Regions from separate parts of the Homo sapiens genome. Here region 1 is linked to region 2. The links are contacts of gene promoters, found by promoter capture Hi-C in human tissues and cell types (Jung and others, 2019). All regions are on one chromosome and are shown on one strand. Each heading gives the region's core, a stretch centred on a gene start or on the middle of the fragment in contact. The rest is flanking DNA. Distances are from core to core; before and after follow the strand shown. Region 1 has its middle 17 kb from the start of MYO18A. Region 2 holds the start of SEZ6 (seizure related 6 homolog).

Region 1 (4,845 bases), core at 507-3,006, 190 kb before region 2:
ACGTACTGTGTCAGCTGGGTGCAGTGGCTCACGACCGTAATCCCAGCACTTTGGGAGGCTGAGGTGGGAGGATCGCTTGAGGCCAGGAGTTCGAGACCAGCCTGGGTGAGATAAGAAGACTCCCTCAAGCCTCTACAAAATATATATATTATATATTATATAATATATATTATATATAATATATATTATATAATATATATTATATATAAAATATATATAATATATATTATATAATATATAATATATATAAAATATATTATATAATATATAATATATAAAAAATATATAATATATATAATATATATAATATACAATATATATAATACACACACACACACACACACACACACACATATTTTCTGAGATGGCGTCTCACCCTGTCGCCCAGGCTGGAGTACAGTGGCATGATGAGCTCGGCTCACTGCAGCCTCCGCTTACTGGATTCAAGCGATTTTCCTGCCTCAGCCTCCCGAGTAGCTGGGACTACAAGGCATGCGCCACCACGCCTGGCTAATTTTTGTATTTTTAGTAGAGTCAGGAGTTGGGGTTTTGCCATGTTGGCCAGGCAGTCTCGAATTTCTGGCCTCAAGTTATCTGCATGCCTCAGCCTCCCAAAGTGCTGGGGTTACAGGCATGAGCCATGGTGCCCGGCAAATTTTTTTTTTAATTAGCTGGGCATGTGGGACACACCTGTAGTCCTAGCTACTCAGGAGGCTGAGGCAGGAGGATCACTTCCGCCTAGGAGTTTGAGGTTACAGTGAACTATGTTCATGTTACTGCACTCCAGCCTGGGTGACAGAGTAAGACCCTGTCTCTAAAAAAATACAATAAATAAATAAACTACATGTTTATTTGAGAGGCAGAAGGGAGAGTGTTGACAGAAATAATGGGTGTAAATGCCCCACAAGCTATACCCTTGGGAATTTTTTCAGTAATTCTCAGGGTCAGAAGCTGCAGAAATGTAAAGTAAAATGAGATTGTTGCAATATGAGGCCTTAAGGAGAATCCACTGGACAGAGACAGGAGGATGTAAGGCCTGTCTCTTTCAAACCCTGACATAGTAGTCAAAAAACATGTTACCCTGGACTCGGAAGAAACACAATCTAGGTCATGAATTTCCACCGTGGCATCTTGGGAGAAATATGCCTGGTACTATGTCGATCTGAAGAAAATGCCAAGACAGTTGGGAGGCCCGAAAGCCTGTTGAGTTAGGAAGAGTTCAGTGGAAGCCTAACTGTAATAGAAGTGTGCAGCCTGTCTTGGTGAATGTTGGGCTGCGTTGGGCTCCTTCTGGGAGTCACTGCTTCCATCTTTTCTTCTGCAGTGTCCTTTTCTCTGCCAGCTTGTTCTTCCCATCCTTGTCAGGCAGCGAGTGGCATGCCTGGGCGTCAGGCACAGATGGAGCTGGAGCTCTTGCTGTGGGCCAGAAATAGCTTTGCAAATATCTGGCTGTGGGGGCATTATGTTTTCGTCCCCTTCCCTTCCTGTCCCCTCACTTCAATTTCTTGTGATTTCTGTGTCCACAGAAATCACAAGATGAGCGACTGGTCATTCCTGGGCTGGCTCCTGACCCGAGTGCAGAACGATTCCACCGTGGTTGGCAAGGTATGGCTCACTGTCCTGGTCTTACACATCCTGCTTGTCGCCCTGCTGGGAAGTGCTGTCTGTGGGATGAGCACTGCAAGTTCATCTGCAATACCCTGCGGCCTGGCTGCACCAATGACCACTTCTCCCACTTCCGCTGGGGCTTTCCAGATTGTGCTGGTGGCCGTACCCTCCATCTTCTTTGTTGTCTGTGTGCTGCACTAGATGGTGAATGGGAGACAGTGGATGTGGAGAGGGGGTACCTGCTGGAAACCGTGCAAGAGCTGGCAGCTGGAGGGGCTCTCCCTGGACCCAGGCTGGGGCCCCTTGGGGCTTCTTTCTTTCTAGAGGGGCAGCTCTTAGTAGGAGAGGAGGTTTTTCCCCAAATGCCTTGGGGCTGCCACCTGGTACCCCAGCCTGCAGTCATACAGGGTCCTGGCTGTCTGCACTGCCCACGTGGTGCTGCGGGCCTGCATGGAGCTGGCCTTCCTGGTGGGGTCTACTCTCTGGGTGTGATATGCCATGGTTGCTTCACTGCCACTCCTCCCCTGTCCCTCCAGTCCTGACTGCTTTGTGTCCAGAGCCATGAGGAAGAAAATCTTCCTGAACTTCATGTGCAGGTGGGGTTGGGCTGCTTCCTCCTGAACCCGATGGAGTTGTGCTACCTGGGCTGGGTCTTCCCTTGCCAGGCACGCTCTGTGGCCTGCACCAGCTAGTGCTACTTCTGCTCCACTGTGATGAGGAAGGACCGTGCTCCAGGTGCCCTCCTGCTGGTGAGTGCCCCAGCAGTGCAGGCCCCAGCACCGCACGCCCCATGCTCACTGCCCGGTGGTGACAAGCAGCTGGCTTAGGGTAGCAGCAGAGACCTGACACTCCCCCCCAGCAATGCCACTCAGCAAAAAAATCCTGCCATCCTGCTTGGTCTTTGAGGGTGGGGAATGTGGAGTGGGAGTGGAAAACCCTGCTTCTTTCTGAAGATGTTACCTCAACAGACACAGTTTAGTGAAGTGATGAAGAGTGAGGCCTCTGGAACCCAGGTTCAAATCCCAGCTCTGCCATTTACCAGTGGTGTAACCTCAGACAAATTGCTTAACTTCTCTGTACCCCAGTTTCTCTAACTGAAAAACGGAAATCATAATAGATCCTCACTCCTACTTCATAGGAATGCTGTGAGGGTGAAATGAGTTTATACATGTAAAGTGCTTATAGATAGTAGCTGGTAACAAACGTTAGCCATTTGTATTAACCTCAGCTGCCTACAGCGTTGCTTTTGCTTGCCTAGCTTCCTGGGCCACCCACAATTGTGGAATCTATTGTCAATTCCTCCCTCAGTTGCTCTTACGGCTGTTGGAAGCCAAGTCCCCACACATTCTTCCTTGTAAGTCTCTCCTACACCTGTCCCCTCTGTTGGGTCCCCAAGTCATCTTCCTTGTTCAAGTTTGTATTTTCGGCCCCCTGCACTGCTGTTGCTGAACCTGCCAGGCACCTCTCTGCCTGCACTGCCCTTTCCTCTATTCCAACATACACCTGCCTCGCTGTGGAATCTCCTTGAATTAATCACTTAAAGTTCCTATGCCTGGAAACCAGCATCTTCCATGAGCCAGCCTGGACCTCCTTTTCTAGCCGGATCACCTACTTTTTCCAAAGAAGCCCTCCATTCTAGCCACACCAGGAGCTGTGCCTGGGGCTCCCTCCCCTACCTCCCACCCTTTGCTTGTGTTCCCTCCCGGGGACCTCTGACGTGGGAGGCTTCAGGACTAAGTTCGAATCCTGCCCCGCCACTCGGTGGTTGTGTGAGCTTGCGTAAGCTACTTGGTCTTCTGGTGATCAGTTTCCTGCTGTGTCAGAAGAGACTAATCATACTTTCTTCACAGGGTCATTGTGAGGATTAAACAAGATACTCTGAGTAAAGTGCAAGGCACACAATGTTCATCAATGAGTAGTAGATGCCATGATTATCACCTACATTCTACTATTATTGCTCAGATACTACCTTTTTTCTGTGCAACGTTCCTTGACCACTGCTCTGATTTTTTTCCTCTGTGCCTCCAAGGCAATTTCACTTAACAATTAGTCACGCAGTATTTTGTGACTTCCCCTTTACTGTGGTCTTCAGCAGTTATTTAAATCCCATCCTGCTGTGTAACTTTGCACATGTCTCTCATTGGTCTTTCATCTCAGTTGCAAGGAGGGGTGGTGACGATGTGCTTTGCAGGAAGAGGACACAAGCTTCTGCTCCCAGCTTAGCACTTTGCGTGGAATAGGAGCTCAACTCATATATGCCGATTTAATTAATTTTGAAATCTTTAGGCTACAATTAGAACTGAGTCCAGACTGAGCTGTACTTGAGGCATGTCAGAAAAGCAGAGTGACAGACATTCCTCCAGTGTCTTCCACAACTTGGGCCGATTTCTAACAATCCTTTAACAACTAAAAAAGTTCCTTGCAGGGTCTAATTTCAGTCCTGCTTGCTGCAATTGAAGCTGCTTTTCAGCCTCAGATTATTGATGTCTAGGTCCTAAAAAGTGTGTGTGGCGGGGGCGGCAGGCGCAGTGGCTCACGCCTGTAATCCCAGCATTTTGGGAGGCCAAGGCGGGCAGTTGCCTGAAGTTGGGAGTTCGAGACCAAGCTGGCTAACATGGTGAAACCCCGTCTCTACTAAAAATAAAAAAATTAGCCAGGCATGGTGGTGCACGCCTGTAGTCTCTGCTACTCAGGAGGCTGAGGCAGGAGAATCACTTGAATCCAGGAGGCGGAGGTTGCAGTGAGCCGAGATCACACCTCTGAACTCCAGCTTGGGAGACACAGCAAGACTCCATCTCAAAAAAAAAAAAAAAAGTGAGGGGGACAATATCTAGGATAATTGGAGATGTCAACCTCCTGTGACCCAGCAATTCTATTCCTAAATATATGCACCAGAAAATATCTTGCACAGTGAGCACCTGAAGATATGTCTCACAATGTTCATAGCAGCATTATTTTGCAAATAGCAAAAACCAGAAACAACCATGAATATTTATCAACAGAATAGACAGACTGTGTTATATTCACATCATGGAATATTATACAACAGTGAAATGAATAAATTAGAGCTAATCATATTAATAGGAATCTTTCTTCTTTATTTTGTTATTCTTTTTTTAAAAATAATAGGAATCTTTCAATGATGAGCAAAAAGAGCAAGTTTCAGAAGAGTAATGACAGTGTGGTATTATTTTTACAAACTAGGTAAAATAATATTTTATATTGTTTGAGGATATA
Region 2 (4,826 bases), core at 1,338-3,837:
AGCCTTGCAAGTCCACCCAGACTGCCACTTTCAAAGGTGCCTATGAATTGAGTAGACTATAAGCCTGCCAGCCCTGTATACAGCTGATTGTCCCCTTGGGCATTTTATTGTTCTCAATTTGTAGGTAATATCAAGGTCTGGTTAGGACGAGCCCCTTGGAGGGCATGATAGAGGGCACCTGACAGAAGCTCTGCTGTTTCCCAGTTTGGCCCAGGCTCTGCCTCAACCTGCCTAGGAACCCACTGCATAAAGGCTATGTTAACTGCCTTTAGGAGGGAGGGACAGCCCCGGTGCATTGTCATGCCCATCATGCAGTACAAGCCCATCTTCTGAGCTCAGGGTACAGTACTGTATTCTGGGACTTGTAGTCTCCATTGGACCCTCTAGGTTAGTTCAGGCCATAGGGAAGGTGATGTGACAAGTTCCAGGATGGCTTCTCTCCCCCTCCTTTATGTGCATAGTGCCCAGCCCATCAAGGAGCCCTGTTGCTAAGAGAGTCAGACAAGCCTGCCACCAACCTCCAAATCCCCATGAATCATCCTGGCAATACAAGATTCATCCCTAGGTCATGACTCACTCCCCTTGCCCAAGCTGCCTAGCCATGAGGGACCAGGAATACTAGAGGAGCCCAGGAATACTTTCAAGGAGGAAAAGAGGAATCTCATGACATTTGCCAGCATTTTCCTAAACTTCCCCCGGTCACACAACCTTCTACCTCTGTGTCTCTTCCCTTCCTCTGTTGGCAACTCTCTTTCTGCCTCCCCTCTTGCACCTTCTTTCCTGGCTTCCTCTCCTCACCCCTGATTCTTGCATCAGCTCCTCCTTCTTCCTGCCATCCTTCTGCTGCTGCCCTCTTTTTCCTCAGCTTCTCAAAACAACTGTCCAGAAATCCCAGCGTCTTCCTAATTCCACACGCCATCTGCCTGCTGCCTGGGACTCTTTACAGCAGTCATCACAGCTCCCCAGAGCCCACAAGAAGAGGGTCTGGAGAGAATCCAACCAGCAGAGTTGGGAGACTCTGGTCAAGAGGACCAAAACACTCTCTAAGGAACTTGAGCAGAAATTTCACCACCTGCTTCCAGGATGAGGGTCAGGAAGGACACTGGACAATGACTGGAGTCTGGAAGCTTTGGAGAGCAACCAAGTTCATGTAAAAAGAAACTAAACAAAAAACTGCCCTTCTCCCAGGGGCAATAGGGAGTTCAGCCCTCCTATTCCTCTACAGGGAATAATAACATCAGCCATAGGATCCTGTCCCATTGTACCCATTAAAGCTCTTCAAGTGAGCCCATCCATGAGCCCCTGCCTTTAAAGAGCAGCCTCAGGATGGCACAGCTGTGACTGCCCCCTTGCTGTCCTGTGACTCACTGGGGCTCCTCAGCCCAAGCAGGGCCCTGGAAAGTTATTTTTCCATGCCTTTAATAGTACAGGCTACACCCCTGGGCCTCCTTCAAGTCTCTATCTAAAACAGCCGTAGGGCACAGTGGCTCATGCCTGTAATCCCAGCACTTTGGGAGGCCAAGGCGGGAGGATCTCTTGAGGCCAGGATTTCAAGACCAGTTTGGGCAACATAATGAGACCTTATCTCTGCAAAAAATTTAAAAATTAGCCAGGCTTGGGGGTGCATGCCTGTAGTTCTAGCTACTTGAGAGGCTGAAGTGGGAGGATCTCTTGAGCCCAGGAGTTTGGGTGAGCTATTAATATAATTGTGCCACTGCATTTCCAGCCTAAGCAACAGAGACCCTGTCTCTAAAAACAATAATAAAATAAAATAAAATAACAGCTCTAGGAAACCCTCTCTCATGCCTATGCCATTTTCTCCACCAATTCCAGAAACCTGGGCAGAGATGGCATGAAGGGTCTGTATCGACTGTCACTGTGGCTTCTCTGGTCCTGCAGAGGGGCCAAGGCAGAGTCCTGGAGACCCAGGGCTACGTGGGGACCCAGGATACTACCTTCAGCTGCCCACAGCTTGGCCCAGGTTGCCTCCTGCCAAGTGAAGAATGTCTCCCCAGGATGCGAGTGCCACTGGCTTTTAACTATAATATCAGGATAATTAAGCTTTTCTGTGAGCACAGTTTGCTGCTGATGCAGCTGCCTGGAGCCCTGGCATTTATTGAGCGCAAAGTAATAATTTATTATCCTTTGTACGCTCAAAAGCCATCTTCATTATCGTCCCAAGACGGAACTGCCACAAGGGCACGCGGGCCTCACCAGCTGCCTCACTCTCGGATGTCTTCCCAGGTCACCCTTGACGCCCTCAGGTACCAGGATTGGGTGGAGAGGGGTGGGGAAAGTGTTGCTCTTTCTCATGGAGAATCAGAAGGCTACAGTGAGCTATTAATTGAGGTTCCTTAGCAGGCCGTTAACGGGAAAGAGGGTGGCATGCTTGGCTGGGGGTGGGCAGCGCAGAAGGGCAGGGGCCGTGTGCCCACATGAGTAGGGCAGTCGCGGTGGAGCGGGAGCCTGGGCTCCTGCCCCTGGGTCTCTGCGCCTTTGCATGAGACTTTACGGTAAGCCGCTCCTCCCGCGCCCCCGCCCCCAGCCCCGCTCGGCGATCCCCGGCGCCGTCGCCAGGCGCTGGCCGTGGTGCTGATTCTGTCAGGCGCTGGCGGCGGCAGCGGCGGTGACGGCTGCGGCCCCGCTCCCTCTACCCGGCCGGACCCGGCTCTGCCCCCGCGCCCAAGCCCCACCAAGCCCCCCGCCCTCCCGCCGCGGTCCCAGCCCAGGGCGCGGCCGCAACCAGCACCATGCGCCCGGTAGCCCTGCTGCTCCTGCCCTCGCTGCTGGCGCTCCTGGCTCACGGTAAGGGACCCCGGCATCCGGCGGCAGGACGGGGGCGGGAGCGGGGCCCCAGGGGTGGGAAGGGAGACCCGGTGCCCAGCTTCGGGCATCTGGCTGCCCAGTCCAAGCACCGCGCCCCGCCGGCTGCGCTGCCCCCGGCGCCGGCCAAGCCGGGCGGGGCGCGGGCTTCGCGGGCGGGAAGCTGCCGCGGCTCCCGCCATTCGCGCCCGGCCGAGACCTCGTCTTTAATCATCTCCCCAGATCTAATGGGATTTCTCTGATGCAATTCATCACGCCACCCACTCCCCGCACACACGCGCTCACCCGCGCGCTACCTCGCCACACTCTAGGCATCTCAGGGTGCTGGGGCGCGTGCCGGGGGGCGCAAGGCAGTGAGTCGGGACGGTCCAGCTGGCGGCCCGTGGTCCCGCTTCCCCTGCCGCCCGCCAAACTTCGCTCGACTTTGCCGCCGGTTCCAGGGCCTCTAGTGTTCTTACTGAGGGGAGACGGGGCCGGATGGCGGCCGGACCCGGGGTTGGGACCTCGCTCACCTCCCCATGCCCTGGCGCTGCCACGCCAGAGTCGGGACCTAGAGCACAATTCTAGAGAGAAACTCCAAGGGCCTGGACCCCCTATCTGGCTCCTGGCTCTGCCCTCGGCTGCAGCAGCGGAGATCCTGGGATAGAGACTCTGTCCTCCCCAAAGTCCTTTCCTTGTACACACACACACACACACACACACACACACACACACACACCACTGCCCCGAGCTCTGCCTCCCTCCCGGCCTGCCTTCCTGCCCGGCCCTGGTCCACTCCCCACCTGCAAGGCAGATTTGTCTCTGGAGGACCTGTTCCCCACACCCTGAGAATCCCCGCGCCCCCTCTAGGAGTCTGGTCCCCAACTTCGTCGGTCTTGGGTAGAGGGAAGCTTGGCCATGGTGTGAGCGGCAAGGGAGTGTTGGGGAGAGGATAGGGGTTCCGTGCCTCGGGGAAGAGTCTTGTCTGGACCTGCCGTCCTGGCTCAAACAAGCTCTCATGGAAGCTACTGGCACCCACGTCCTTCTCCCGCTGCAGTAGGCTGGTAGGGTCGGCAGAACCGCACTTGGAGTTGAGACCTGCCATCCCTTGCCATATGGTTTGAAGGGCCTGATGTGAAGTGTGAGGGTGGGAGTTTCTAACCTCCCTGCTCGATCTTTCCAGGCCGCTGCCGAGGTCAAGGCAGCGCGGCCAGGGACAGGCTGGGCCCCCGGACGGCAGTTTTCTTCATCCAGGAAGAAAAACTGTGGCCCCGGAGACGCAGAAGCCTTTTTCTGAGCCTCTAGCTCCACTTGCACACAGCCCAGTGTCCTCACCCCGCTACCGGGCTGCCCATGCTGGATCCTCCGGCAGCGCCCAGAACTTGAAACCGTGTGCTCACGTTCTGGGGAGAGGGGAAGAGTCCTGCAAGACCCACCCCAGGGATGAAGACCGGGAAGGAGAAGTGTGAATCCCTGCCTAGCTGCCTGGGGATGTCCCTAGGAATTCCGAACCTATCTTGGGTCCTGATGGGTCCTGGCGCTGGACAGCTCCCCTGGGGCGCAGGGCCTGTGTCTGTCCCCTGGCAGTTAGTCAAGGCCTTGTGTGTGAGTTTGTGGGTCTGAATGTGAGAGTAATCAGGGCCCTGCATGACTAGAGGAGCCAGTCCCAGTGTGTCTGCACTTCAAGTGGTCCGAATCTTGGGTGAGGGGTCAGCAGTGAATGGGTGTGAGGACTGTGTGAGGCCACTAGTGTGTGGGTGCAGCCTCAGCCAGAGAGCTCCCTGCAGGGCTAGAGTGAGACTGTGGGAATCCAGGAGGAAGGCTGGTGTGGCCAGGAGTCCCACCAGCCCTGATGGGGATGTGGGTGTGAGTGTTAGGAGGAATCTGCTCACTCTGTGGCCTCAAGTCTGTGTGTCCCTGGGCAGTGTCCCTTCCTGACTATCAGGATCTCCAGTGCCCATGGAGGCACCTGCCAGTGGGATATGTGGGGTAGGAGTCTGGCTGTTGGGAAAGACCTCTATTTT

What was found. Contacts are between HindIII fragments. The study calls those that stand out against the background at their distance.
Region 1: a contact is called between a fragment that was not itself captured here and the fragment with the promoter of SEZ6 in region 2, in 1 of the 25 tissues and cell types used here (IMR-90 fibroblasts).

Annotation. Positions count from the first base shown.
Region 1 is chr17:29,194,481-29,199,325 of GRCh38, reverse strand. It overlaps the pseudogene LOC100421028. Among named protein-coding and RNA genes, the nearest start is that of MYO18A, 17 kb to the right of the region's middle. The HindIII fragment of the contact is 7,363 bases long and covers 1-4,845 here.
Region 2 is chr17:29,003,794-29,008,619 of GRCh38, reverse strand. It overlaps SEZ6 (seizure related 6 homolog), which reads left to right and starts at 2,587. Exons shown (of 17, transcript NM_178860.5): 1 at 2,587-2,805. The coding sequence starts at 2,751. All of the region lies in intron 2 of LOC105371716 (a long non-coding RNA gene), which reads right to left. RefSeq lists a silencer at 2,641-2,824 and enhancers at 4,175-4,799, 4,800-4,826. The HindIII fragment of the contact is 3,335 bases long and covers 1,595-4,826 here.